4 separate regions of the Homo sapiens genome follow, and all the other regions are linked to region 1. The links are contacts of gene promoters, found by promoter capture Hi-C in blood cells and fetal thymus (Javierre and others, 2016). All regions are on one chromosome and are shown on one strand. The core of a region is centred on a gene start or on the middle of the fragment in contact, and the rest is flanking DNA. Distances in the headings are between cores, read along the strand shown.

Evidence for each region. The method cuts DNA at HindIII sites, captures the fragments that hold promoters and counts their contacts. A CHiCAGO score of 5 or more calls a contact.
Region 2: a fragment that was not itself captured here is called in contact with the fragment with the promoter of IL21-AS1 in region 1 in 2 of 17 cell types (endothelial precursors and naive CD4 T cells); the score reaches 6.0 in endothelial precursors.
Region 3: a fragment that was not itself captured here is called in contact with the fragment with the promoter of IL21-AS1 in region 1 in 1 of 17 cell types (megakaryocytes); the score reaches 5.2 in megakaryocytes.
Region 4: a fragment that was not itself captured here is called in contact with the fragment with the promoter of IL21-AS1 in region 1 in 2 of 17 cell types (megakaryocytes and erythroblasts); the score reaches 6.8 in megakaryocytes.

What each region holds. Positions count from the first base shown.
Region 1 is chr4:122,617,276-122,620,786 of GRCh38, forward strand. It overlaps IL21-AS1 (IL21 antisense RNA 1), which reads left to right and starts at 1,708. Exons shown (of 11, transcript NR_104126.1): 1 at 1,708-2,217; 2 at 2,693-2,890. It overlaps IL21 (interleukin 21), which reads right to left. Exons shown (of 5, transcript NM_021803.4): 2 at 3,426-3,461. RefSeq lists an enhancer at 2,878-3,511. The HindIII fragment of the contact is 3,552 bases long and covers 1-3,068 here.
Region 2 is chr4:121,880,710-121,884,220 of GRCh38, forward strand. It overlaps TRPC3 (transient receptor potential cation channel subfamily C member 3), which reads right to left. Exons shown (of 12, transcript NM_001130698.2): 11 at 1,645-1,720. Among named protein-coding and RNA genes, the nearest start is that of BBS7-DT, 12 kb to the left of the region's middle. The HindIII fragment of the contact is 810 bases long and covers 1,142-1,951 here.
Region 3 is chr4:121,897,073-121,900,583 of GRCh38, forward strand. TRPC3 (transient receptor potential cation channel subfamily C member 3) reads right to left here. Exons shown (of 12, transcript NM_001130698.2): 10 at 2,540-2,623. Among named protein-coding and RNA genes, the nearest start is that of BBS7-DT, 28 kb to the left of the region's middle. The HindIII fragment of the contact is 5,104 bases long and covers 1-3,511 here.
Region 4 is chr4:121,915,864-121,919,374 of GRCh38, forward strand. The region is part of intron 3 of TRPC3 (transient receptor potential cation channel subfamily C member 3); the gene reads right to left. Among named protein-coding and RNA genes, the nearest start is that of TRPC3, 34 kb to the right of the region's middle. The HindIII fragment of the contact is 194 bases long and covers 1,718-1,911 here.

The DNA.
Region 1 (3,511 bases), core at 458-2,957:
GAAAACCACACGTTCATGTTTGTTGAAGTTTTTTCTTTTCTCTTCTTTTTGACCACAACCGGCTTAACTTACTGGAAAAAATAATATTCATATTTAAAGAGGTAAATTTTCCAGCTGAAACTGAAAATACTGACTGCTTCATCCGTGATGATCTGAAAAACCAGCATTTCTCACAGAGGCTCATTTTGCTGAGTTAACATTTACATGTGTATGCTGAAAGAAAATTAGGTTCCAAAGAAGTAGAGGGGCCCTGCCAGCCAAATGAACTCCCTTGAGATAATATTGCCAGGAATGGTCAGTACCGGTACTCAAAGCACTGAAATTGTAAAACTACAATTTCAGTTGTAAAAACAACTGAAAATCTTTTCTGAAAGCCTTTGAATGGTACCTGGACACTGACGCCCATATTGATGGGGCTGTGCTTCCTCTCCCACCCTTCCTTGTTTACCTCTGTTAACAGACAATGGGGTTTTGTTTTCTTCTGTTCTGCAAGCAGCAGAGCTGTGTCTGGCAATATGTGGTCCAGGATAAATAACTGCGGGAATTGGCTTTATATGCACATCAAAGGCAGCCTCAAAAGAGGAAAAGAAGTAGAGGGCTGTCGCCACTAAACTGCCTTAAGGATGTATTGAGAAGGAGAGTGAAAAGATTAACCTTGATTTAGGCAGCCTCAGGTGCCCTATCACTCAGGAGTCTACAGGATGCCAACTCCATATTTAGCACTGTCTGGAAGCATGAACATTGCTTTCCTTTGCTATGCCTTGGTGACAACAGACTCCAAAGGCAAGACTTTGTTTCCCTCATGCTTTAACATATGAGAACATGAGGAGTTTTCTGCTGCTACATTGTTTTGCAGACTAGAAGGAGCGGTAGTAAAGTCAAACGCAAGAATTAACAAACCATTCCTCTTCAGCTGAAGAACAAGTCAAGTGCTGCTTTTGCCAGGAGTCACACTTGGCTTTGTTGTTTTGCAATTGAATTTTTGAAATTTTTTACCTCCTTAGGGCTTTTTTTTTTTTCTTTTGTAGAAACAGGATGTCTCACTATTTTGCCCAGGTTGTTCTCAAACTCTTGACCTCAAGCAATCCTCCAAACTTGGCTTCCCAAAAGGATTACAGGCATTGGGATTACAGGCAGGAGCCACTTCACCCAGCTGAGGCCTATTTTTACATTTTTTTCCTTTTGCAAAGAAAGCCCTGGCCATTCACACTAAGAAGTCTTGCTAATTGGGCAAGACTACCTTTGTCCTGGCTGGGTGCAGTGGCTCACGCCTGTCATCCCAGCACTTTGGGAGGCCAAGGCAGGTGGATCACGGGGTCAAGAGATTGAGACCATCCTGGCCAACATGGTGAAACCCCGTCTCTACTAAAAAATACAAAAATTAGCTGGGTGTGGTGGCGTGCGCCTGTAGTCCCAGCTACTCGGGAGGCTGAGGCAGGAGAATCGCTTGAACCTGGGAGGCAGAGGTTGCAGTGAGCTGAGATCGCACCACTGCACTCCAGCCTAGCAACATATCGAGACTCCGTCTCAAAAAAAAAAAAAAAAAAAAAAAAAAAGGATTACCTTTGTCCTACACACAAACTAGGTTTATATCAGGGTTTCTCAACGGTGATACCACTGACATTTGGGGCTAGATAATTCTTTGTTGTCAGGGCTGTCTTGTGCATTCTAGAATGTTTAGTACCTGGCTTCTACCTACTAGATGCCAGTAGCACCCCCATTCTACCTCCAAGTGTGACAACCAGAAATTTTTCCAGCCAATGCCAAATGTTTTCTGGGGCACAAAAATCACCACCGGTTGAGAACCACTGGTTATATGATTAGACGGAAAGAAAAAGAGAAAAAGAAAGATGCCTGGCTAGGCCAATTAGAGATCTTAGATAATTACTATATGCATGCAACATTAGATAGTTTTATTTTCATTAAACTTTTAAATCTTTTAAAATCTCTTACAGACCCTACTTTGAAGCTAGCTTGATATAATGCTAATGTGACCTTGAACGATTTCTTTCTTCCTGAGTTTGCCTACTAGTATAGCTTAAAGATCCAAGTTACACTATTACTCACTTATATCATAGCCAGCATTGCTTGATCAGATTATCAGATAGATACAGTATCACGGAGACAAAATCCTTTCATTATGATGTAAGATAAAAAATATCTTTCATTAACAACACACGTAAAGGAAGTACCCACTGGACCAACTCAGGTTAGAAGGTGGAATCTCTTTCTTATTTCTTATTTTGCAAGTTATAGACTACAGCCAGGAAACTCTGGAAAGAACTCTAACCATAACAGTTAAACAAGGTGCATGAGATGCTAGAAATGTATGTTTTGATAATTAGGCACATTGATTAAGAAGTATTTTCAGTTATTGGAAAAGTCTTTCCAATAAGCTGAATGTGCTACTTTCATTTTAGATGCTGCTTATTAGAAAAGGACCTAGTAAATGAGAGTGTTTGGGTTCAGAGCTAGAGAGTGAATTTTAGAGAAAAGCAATAGTTGTGACTCATTCACTTTCTAAACTTTTACACATAGTCATTTACGATAATTGTTTTCTTTGCAATGTATCTTCTTAAGTCTCCCCCTTTGTAGTGTCCTAATTACTGGTAGCACTTTTAGTTATTCTAATTTATGCAATTAAAGGTCTGTGACAATGAAAACATTTCCCCAATTGCATTTATACTCTCAGGGTACCAGACCAGAAGATCAGATCGTAGAAGTTACTGGAGAAAAAGATCAGCGGACAGCACTCTTGAACTACATGCCAGGCCTCTTCTTCCTGGAACTCTAATGGATTTAAATGGCTTAAGAGACGGGATGAATTGTTGAAAATGGTTCTTTCAAAAGACCTCACGGAAGGCCAAAGACAAGACTCACTGAGGCCAAGGTATATGTGAATTATATTCTGAAGGACAGCTTTGATTTCCACACCACCATTTCTCCATGCTGTCCCTGTAATCTAATTCTTTCTTTCTTTCTTTTTTAAGTTTGTTATTAAAAGGTTAATTCTGCTTCCTACTGTATGTATCTATGTTTCTTCGGTAGGATAACAAAGAAGGCTCAAAAGCTTTCATGCCCAAGGGCTCTTAAAGAGTAACTAGCTGTGCATTGTTCAGAAACTGATCAGAGTATAGATTTCGTTTCTAGTTTTGTTATTCTGTCTCAGCAATACTACTTAGGAGTACTCTTAGAGATTCTTGAAGATAAACATAGTTTATGAGGAATATAATATAGCATTTTTTAGTTGGTTTTTGGTAAATCAATGAATTTAACCAAAATATAAATAAATATTTCATCAATTATTAGACCGCTAAGTTCATTAAAATTCAGTATACTCCTATATAATCATGCTAATGTCTTTCTTATTGGATTTAAAAACTTATGTCCAATGTATTTTCAGAAATAAATTCAACTGGTCTTACCTCTACATCTTCTGGAGCTGGCAGAAATTCAGGGACCTAGAGCAAAAGAAAATTTGTTCTGAGTTATTTTTATAAGCCAAACCCTC
Region 2 (3,511 bases), core at 297-2,796, 740 kb before region 1:
CCTTCAAAAGTGAATGTTGGAGCAAGAATTTACCTTGAATCTAAGAAATGATTCTTCAAACCATTGACTTAGGTTTTTATAATAAAATGGCATTTAAAACACACCTTTGATGATATTTCCTGGTATCTTTAATATGCTTTAAAGTATAATTTCAATATTCTTCTATTATATAAAAGTCAGAGCATTTTTATTTGAAAAGAATTCTAACTCAGGAATACACACAAAACATTTGAGGAGCCCTTTTGTGGCAAAAAAAAAAAAAAGTGCTTCCTTTGGCATATGGCAATATAAAAGGAATAAACTGATCTTATTTGAAATCATGAGGCAGACTTCAGTGGAAGGAGTGGATTCTCACACCATTCAGTACCGCAGGAGACCCCCTGCCCTACTTCACCTTCTACTATCCTTTCTTCCTTGTCCCCGACTCATGGGGAGACTACAACCTATGTGTTGTATTAAATATTTAATCTGCCAATTCAGGAAACACAAGTTACTCAAACTCTTCAGATTTTAGTTTCCTCATTAATTAAATGAGGAGATTATATGACACATTTTCTTAGTAAGAACTTTGTTCAAAACTCCAAATTCTCATTGATTTTCCCCTTTTGTGCAAGGGCTTGGGAAATGCTTCTTGTTTTTTATGCCGTTTTAGCCATACAGTTCTTCCCACTTTGTTCCTCCCTCTCCACCCCCCATGGAGATTACGGTACAACTCATCAGACTTCTGCTTTCTAAACTACAACCTCATTCCAATCCTTTCTCCTGAGACAGATTGATTAGGTCACCATGATTAGATTTTTGCTAGTTATCGATTATAAATTCACAGGTTTCTCTTCTACATACATACACTATTGGATTGATTTACATTTAAAATGCATTCCTTGTATTAATCAAGTAATGGCTTCAAAGCCTATGAACAATTTTATTAAGTTTAGTCCTTTCCTCTTTTATCAGTGTAGATAGATTTAGTGGCATCTCATTGGTGTTGGAAGGTACAGTTTCCATTTTTAGGGCAACTTATTTCTCCCTGGTTGATTTCTTTCCAACTCTGGGCCTGTGTTTAGCTCTACATCCTAGACTTTGGTAAAAAATTTTTATAGTCCAGAGAGATGCCCTGCCTCAAATATGCCTTAAAAAAATAAGCTTGCTTAAAGTAAGGAGGCAGGGGGGAAAGTGAAATTCAAAAGAGACGCACCAGACAAGAAAAACAGGTTAAAAATGTGTTTCTGAACAATAAAACAGAGGTTTTCCTGAAGACATGAATTCTGTTTGAGTCACTGTTCTTTTATCTGCTTAACTGGAAAAATGTTAACACTAATGTGAACTCATTGAAAATGTAACCAATACTTACTGACTACCTTATGTCAGAAGGATTAAAAAACTCCTAGAAAGATGTCAGTCTTTACATTCTAAGAATCAGTTAGGGCACTATGAGTAGAGATAAATTGCCTCTGATCAATATTGTAAATAACTGTTTATTTTAAAAGATGAAGTTTTAGAAACGTAACATAAGATCCTCCTCCCATCTTAGAGGCATCCAAACTATAACCTGGGATTGGATTTTTAAAATATGCCTCAACATTAAGTTTTCCAGGTTCATTAAGTTAGCTATAAAAGGATATTTTTTAAGTTGGAGATGCTTACCTTCATTAACTTCATCATTTTCTTTGTCTACTTGTGCTTTCAAAACATACCGCTTTATAAGTCTTTTCATTATCTGCTGTTGGGCAAAAGTAAATGATTAGATCTCCAATGATATACATAAGTGCCCCAATCCTATTTTCCAAAGAGGCTTACATACCTGTAAAGCAAACAACTCAGGGGAGAAAAAAATTTTATAACTATGTATAGAAAAATTACGCAGGTTTCAGAACTTAACTCTCTTAATGCCTTCTACTGAGACTTACTGCATAATCCACCAATACTTTTTTTTTGCCTCAGAAACGGAAGAAGCTTTTAAAAAGAAGTTAAGCTTGAAGATTTGAATTCATGGCTCCTCTTTCAACTAATAGTTTCTTTTTAAATTACATTGACACCACATTATCACCCATAGACACTACCTTATTTCCCAGTATTTAGAAAAATACATCAATGTATACTCTATATAGAGAATTTGGAAAATATACAGAAGAACAAAATAAACAAATGAAATCATTGGCAACCTCACCAGCCAAAGATAATCACTGTTTTCATTTTGGTGTATGCCCTTCCAATATCTTTTCTTTAAAATTTGTATATATACTAATTACTGTAAGTATTATATTTTATGTTTTCTAAATGCCATATATTTTGTTATATTGCATACGTTTCTCTAATAGCAATATATGTGACTATTTTCAGTCTAAATAAATGCTCTTCTAGGATAACTGTTTACCCATATGGAAAAAATTAAATTGGAGCCCTATTTCATACCATGAACACAAAAATTAATTCCATTTGCATCTTAAATGTGAAAGACAAAGCTTCTGAACCCTTAAAAGAACGTATTATATAAGAGAGTATATTTATAAATTTGGGGTAGACCTGTATTTTTAAAAAAACAAGATTAAAACTTCTGATTACAATAGAAAAGACTGATAAATTCAACTTCATTACAATTTAAAATTTCTGTTTAAAGAGATACTATAAAGAAAGTGAAAAGGCAAGCCATAAACTGGGAGAAAATATTGGTAATGCTTGTAATTAAAAATAATTTATATCCAAATATATAAAGAACTTTAATTCAATAAGAAAAACTCAAATAACCCGATTTTAAAATGGGCAAAAGACAAACAAATGTTTCACAGAAATGGAAACGTGAAGGGTCAACAAGCTTAAGAAACAATTTCAAACTCTGTTGCAGGGAAATACAAATTATGACTAAAAGGAGACACAATTTTACATCTAATAAAGAGAACGATTAATAAATCTGGTTATGCCAAGTGTTAGAAAGGATATGGATCAATGGGGACTTTTATATTTTACTGGCAAGACTGCAGACAACTTTGAAGACAATTTAGTACTATCTTTTTAGTTTTTAAATTGATTTCTATTAACAAAATTTTAGAGGTGGAGTCTCACTATATTGCACAGGCTTGCCTCAAACTCCTGGGCTCAACGCTGTCCTCCTGCCTCAGCCTCTCAAGCAGCTGGAGCTATAGACATGACCCACTGCATCCAGGTGGTATTATCTTTTAAAGTTGAACATTTACATACCCTTTCAGCTAGAAGTCCACTTCTCAGTAAAAGGCCTAGAGAAACTTTGTAGGTATGAACCAAGAGACATACAACAATGTTTGTAGCAACCCTGTCTGAAATTGCAAAACACTGGAAACAATCTAAACAAATATTAACAAGAATAGACAAATTGCAGTATTTTCAATGTAATGTTATTGTGTTCATTAATGAAATTAATGCACCATAGCCACACACAACAGTGTGGATGAATCTTAGAAGCATAATGTTGAATGAAAAATTCCAGTTGCAGAAGACCACAGAGTATGAAGCTATTCTTATGAAGCTCAATAACAAG
Region 3 (3,511 bases), core at 329-2,828, 720 kb before region 1:
AAACTGGATATCCATATGCAGAAGAATAAGACTAGACTCCCACTTCTCACCTTGTATAAAAATCAGGGCAAAATGGACCAAAGACCTAAATGTAAGACCTGAAATGATAAAACTAGTAGAAAAAAACATAGGAGAAATGCTTCAGGACACTGGTCTGGGAAAATATTTTATGAACAAGACCTCAAAAGCAGAAGTAACAAAAGCAAAAATAAACATATGGGATCATACCAAACCAAAGGCTTCTTGGTTTGGTTCATACCAACAAAGGAAAAAACAACAGTGAAAAGACAGCCTACAAAATTGGAGAAAATATTTGCAAATTGCTCATCCAATAGGGGATTAATATCCAGAATATACAGGGAACTCAATCATCTCAACAGCAAAAAAAAAAAAAAAAAAAAAAAAAAAAAAAAAAAAAAATTCCAATTAAAAATGGGCAAATAATCTGAACAGACATTTCTCAAAAGAATACATACAAATGGTCAATGATATATGAAAAAATGCTCGACATCACTAACCAAACCACAATGAGGTTATCATCTCACTCCAGTTAGAATGTCTACTATCAAAAAGACAAAAAAAAAATGCTGGTAAGAATGCAGAGAAAGGGAACTCTAATATGTTGTTGATGGGAATGTAAACTAGTACAACCATTATGTAGAACAGTATGGAGGATTTTCCAAGAACTACAAATAGAGCTACCATATGATCCAGCAACCCCACTACGGGAATTTATCTAAAGGAAAAGAAATCATTATATCAAAGAGACAACTGCACCCACATGTTTTATTGCAGCACTATTCACAATATTCAAAATATGAAATCAACCTAGGTGTCTAACAGCAGATGAATGTATAAAAAATGTAGTATATATACACAACGGAATGCAATTCAGCTATAAAAAAGATTGAAATCCCATCATTTGCAGCAACATGGATGGAACTGGAGGACATTATGTCAAGTGAAATAAGCCAGGAACATAAAGTTAAGCACCGCATGTTCTAACTCATAAACTCATATGTGGAAGCTAAAAAAAGTTGATCTCACAGAGGTAAAATGTAGGACGAAGGATACTAGAGACTGGGAAGGGTAAGGGGTAGGGAGGGATATGGAGAGATTTGTTAAAGGATACAAAATTACCGCTAGATAGGAGGAATAACTTCTAGTGTTCTACACCAGGAGTCCCCAACCCGCAGATGAAGGACTGGCATCTGTCCGTGGCCTGTCAGGAACCAGGCTGCACAGCAGGAAGTGACAGGCTGGCAAGCGAGCATTACCGCTTGAGCTCCACCTCCTGTCAGATTAGCAGCGGCATTAGATTCTCCTATTATTGTGAACCCTATTGTGAACTGCACATGTGACAGATCTAGGGTGTGCACTCCTTATGAGAATCTAATGCCTGAAGAGCCTGAAGATCTGAGGTGGAACACTTTCACCCTGAAACCATCATTCCACCCCATCTGTGAAAAAATTGTCTTCCACAAAACCGGTCCCTGGTGCCAAAAAGGTTGGGGACCACTGTTCTATACCACTATAGCATGACCATAGTTAACAATGATATATTAATATTATATAGTTTCATATAGCTAGAAGGAGGATACTGAATGTTACCAACACAAAGAAATGATAGATGTCTGAGATGATGGATATGCTAATTACCCTGATCTGATTCCTACATATGTATCAAAACATCACTATGTAGACAATGAGTAAGTATAATTATTTATCAATTAAAAATAAAGTTAGACAAAACCAATAAAACAAAAATAAACAAATATGTAAAATTTACAAAAATTTTCTTAAAAAAAAGACTTTGACAATCAGTGGGCTGAGCCATTTTGTGGTTTCCTGCTTCTAAAAAAATTGGATAAAAAATAGAACAATACGCAGTAACGGACATCACCAATATATTATAAATTCCTTGATCGTCACTTTTGTGAACTTATACACATTAGAAAGTCAAAGACTTGATGATCGAAATGATCAACGAGATGAAAAACAAAGGGCTATAACTTCCCCTGAGTTGGAGAATAGTGTTCAAATGTCACATCCAGTATCAAAATGCAAAAGATATTTTAAAGTAGCACTCATGAAACAGTATAGCCAAACAATCCATTTAAAAAATGGATCACCTGAAAGAAAAACCTAGAGAAAAAACAAGTTTTCCTGCCATGGGAGCATTATTCATTCTAACATACTCTGTCTTCTACTGCTTTCTCCAGTTTAAGTTATACATTATTTGGCAATTGTAGCAACACTTTGCTTTCAATATTGTGAGAGGAACTCTTAGTTAAAAAAATGAAGGACTTGGACTCTGATTTCTAAAGTCTCCTCCAACTAACATACTATTTTCTTTTATTTTTAATTTTTTTTTAAAAAATTTCACAGGTGTTGAATCATTTTCTTTGTTCTGAACTATCCTCATGGTATAATGGTATATCTCAAGAATATAACTCAACTCATGACACACACACAAACACACACGCAGACATATATGGAATCACATAGAGATCAAGAGATACGTCTAATGAATGCTTACCTGATAACGTGTTGGCTGATTGAGAATGCTGTTAAAACTGTGTGATTCAAAAACTCTTGAGTTAGACTGAGTGAAGAGGTTTAACTAGGAAAAAATACAATTAACCTAGTAAATTAGAATACATTCATTTGGAATAAAAAATATAATCCATTTATTCTCCTTGATAACATTTCTGGAGTCAACATTCCCAAGAAACATTTTGTGGAAGTTGAGCTTTGTAAGTGATGTAATATATTCCCAAAGGTTAAAATTACTGTGAGCAATATGCTCACATTTATCAAAATGTTGGCAGGATGTACTACTGTAATAGAACTATTTAATGGAAAATATATGTTAAAAATTGGCTCATAATAAACATAATTTTCCCTGGGGACCTTGTATACTTTATCAAAATGTACTCAAGGCATCTAGAAGGCCAAATTCCATAGAAGTTTGATCTGTTCCTGAGCCTAAGTTCCTCTTCTAGATTTGAATAGAAACATATTGCAGGTTCAGATGGCACCATTTGGTATTTTGCAGCCCTAAAATATTAGCCAAAATAACACATCTTCCAAAGCATCTTGGCCTTATGCTAAGCCAGGTTCACAATTTTGGAGAGAATTGGGCTAAAGAATTTTGGTTTCCTTTTCTTTTCTCTCTTTTTCTTTTTAAGGTTTAGCTTTTGAGTGGGTAGGAACAGGAAGCAAGAGGAACACACAGGTAATACCTAGTCTTCATGTATACGAGCAGGGCCTCTTATCTGTGGCCAAGCTCTGCCACTGTAAGGTGTGATTCAAACACATGGCCCTCTAGCCAAAGAGATGATTTACCTCACCACCTAACTTCCCACCATTATAACTCAGGAAGGTGTGGGATGCTAAGAGATAAGGAAGTGCCACTGATAGGCAAGGACCTTCATTTGTTCTCTTACAATTGTGCCTGGAGAAAACCTTAGCTAACAAAGTTAATTCTCCAATCGGCCACTGGAGGCCA
Region 4 (3,511 bases), core at 565-3,064, 700 kb before region 1:
TTTTTGAATGGTCATATGCTCTTTGTCCAAGCTCAGGAATTCAAAAATCAACTATGAGTGACAACATATTTTTTAAAGGAGTTCTTAGCAACACAAAAATCAAGGTGTCACTGTCTTCTAAAAAACAGAATAAGCAATAACAATGAACCTGTTAAGAAACACCCATGAAATGTTTTTGGGAACTGAGAAACAGAGTAGCTGCAGTTCCTACTTGTCAAAAGGTTCCTCTTTGATCAAGTTCTAGTTAATAATCCTGATGATTCTTAGTAACTCCAGGCAATTCCTAGAGTTATTAATATTTGGCTCTTTATCAAAGCCCACCTACAAGGAAATGCACAGGTTTCCACTGACTGGTGCATAGTTTCCCATCAACAATTTTAATTAAAAAAGAAAGTCTCATCTCCCAGGACAGGCGATGTAGGTTCAATTTCCCCCAAATCCCTGCCTTTGCCCCCAGAGTGCACCCAGTGTAAAGTCCACTGATGGCTGCACTGGCAGCTGCCTCCGCATCACCATACATGCGTACTTAACGACCCACAGACAGAGGTGGTGAGAATAAATTTATGAATATTAGATTTGAAATAATTAACTGAGTTATTATGTTGAGATTCTAAGCCTCAATGTGATGGGTATTAGAAAGCTAGGCTTTTGGGAGGTAATTAGATCATGAGGGAGGAGCCTTCATGAATGAGACTGGAGCCCTGATAGGAAGAGGCAGGAGAGCTCGCTCTTTCCACCATGTGAGGATACAATGAGAAGTCAGCAGTCTGCAACCCAGAGGAGAGCCCTCATCAGATCTTCACTATGCTGGCATCCTCATTTTGGATTTCCAGCCTCCAGAACTGTAAGAAATAATTTTTTTTTTTTGAGATGGAGTTTCTCTTTTGTTGCCCAGGCTGGAGTGCAATGGCACAATCTCGTCTCACCACAACCTCCACCTCCCGGGTTCAAGTGATTCTCCTACCTCAGCCTCCCAAGTAGCTAAGATTACAGGCATGTGCCACCATGCCTGGCTAATTTTTTGTATTTTTAGTAGAGACGGGGTTTCTCCATGGCGGTCAGGCTGGTCTCAAACTCTCAACCTCAGGTGATCCGCCCGCCTCAGCCTCTGAAAGTGCTGGGATTACAGGCATGAGCCACCACGCCTGGCCGAGAAATAAATTTCTGTTGTTTATAAACCACCCAGCCTATGGTACTTAGTTACAGCAGCCTGAACTAAGAAGCATATTTTATCATGCGAGTTCCTTTCCATTCAGTTTTCAAAATCCCAGGTCCTGATTTTCAGTAGCTGCTAGTTGCTAAGGATGTATTAGATCTTCTCTCCAAACCCAGGATTTTGTCACTTTTCCAAGGTTCTAAGTTTTGAAAACAGCATTTCATAGACCAATGCAATCATTATTTGAACTCACGAATATCAAAGTTGAAGGCTTCCTGGGTATATGTGACAACTTTCTAGGATTCTTGTTGAGAACTTCTCCAAACTTCCACTTCTGCTCCTGTACTATATTTAGATCATTTCCTTCCTGCTTCACCTCTCCCTCTATGGTCCCTAAATGTCCTTCATTCATTCATTCATTTATTCACTCATCAAAATGTCTTAAGCCCCTCCTATGATCCAGGCAGTATATTGGGCAAGTGTATTGGTACAAGAAGATAAAAATGGAAGCATCAGAGTTGAATTAAGTGATAAGAGGTCATTGTTCTAGGGTACACAGTAAGCTTTGAATAGACACAAAATAAGCTATTATAACTGAGACTTCAACTCATAGGCTTGTCAAGATGCCTAATCAGAATTTAAAAGAGTCTTAATTTGAATGTTGGTACAAGTATCTTGATATTTGGAGGATCTGCATTTGTGGGAAGTTAGACAGATATAAATAAAAGGCATCCCTGGTGGCTGCAGCCAGGCTAAGCTTAGGACAGATAATGGTGCATTCAGGGTAAACTACAGGTGGAGCATATAATGTCATTAAATCAGATTACCACTTAGGAAATCAACAATGTAGTTTTTAGACCAACAGTTTCTGTAGGAAACAAAATTCCCATGAAGTTAAGAGACAGGTGGGCATGTGTCTATATGGAATTGATGGACAAATTTCCCTTTTGTGAGTGTCTGGTAGCTATCGTTTGAATGTGTCTCCTCCAACATTCAGGTGCTGTCAATGTGGTAGAGTTAACAGGTGGGGCCTTCAAGAGGTGATTAGGCCATGAGGGCTGCTCCCTTGTTAATGGTATTAAGACGCCTATAAAAAAGACTTCATGCAGCATTCAGCTAGCTTGCTCTTCTACTCTTCTGCCATGTGAGGACGTAGTGTTCCTCCCCTCTAGAGGATGCAGCCCTCACCAGACTACCAAACCTGCTGGTGCCTTGATCTTGGACTTCCCAGCCTCCAGAACTATGAGACAAGAAAGTTTTGTTCTTATAAGTCTCTCCATCTCAGGCATTCTATTGTAACAACACAAACGGACTAAGGCACTAGTCGTTCTTAGGTTTTAAACTCTTGAGGACAGAAATATTAATGTTATAGCATATCTCCCTTTCCTACTCCTCCTCCTTGGACTAATTTTTAAATTTGAAGATGTGCTTTATGTCATTAATTACATATTTATAAAGATTGCACAGCTTCAAAGACTTGATGGACTCAATCCTTCCCATATGGCATATATGTGATGGTCAATCTTTGACTTGATGTAACCTGTACTACAGTGCAAACACTTACTCTACATTAAGTAGTAACCAAAATTGTGGGTGTTTGCATTTTGCCTGTTACACTTTAAAATTCAGCTTAACAGGTCTATTTCCTATGCTTCTAATTCTACTCTTTTTTTTGAGATAATTATACACGACTTCATGGATTCTGTCGATTCCATTTAATCCACACAAACAGATTTTCCTCCAATGATGTAAAATCCTAATGCAAGTACACAAGGAGCATTTCAAAAAAGAAAGTAAAGCCAGTACAATAATAGCAAGTGAAGGCAAAAAAGCTAATCCCTTTAGGAGATGAGTTTTGGTCTTTTCAATGACTTCGAAATAGGGCAGTGACCTTTATACCTGAAAAGTGTTTTACCTCCTGAAAAATCTCCTTATGTCACTACACCAGTTATGCCCAACTGGATAACATTTGTATGCTGTTTCCTAACTTCAGTGGACCAGCAAATTGAAGTCATAACAAAAATAATACCCTTATTTTGAGTTTTCTGATTCAAAGAGAGAATGCTTGACACAAGAAAATCTCAATCTTTCAATTGGACAATCAGCATTGAGAACAACTGAAATGTTTTTTCTTGCCAAATAACTAATAGATTATAAACTGAACCACTGATCAGGGCAGGCTAGGGAAAACAATCAAATTTTAAACTTAAAAATTAATTCATGTTACACTGTTTTTCATCAAATCAGCCTTCACAAGAACTGTCTTCATGGGAATACTGTTGTGTAAAATCATGGTAGGAACTCTGGATTTGTTTTTAATGATACTGTTAGAGCCACAATTCATACAATTTAAAG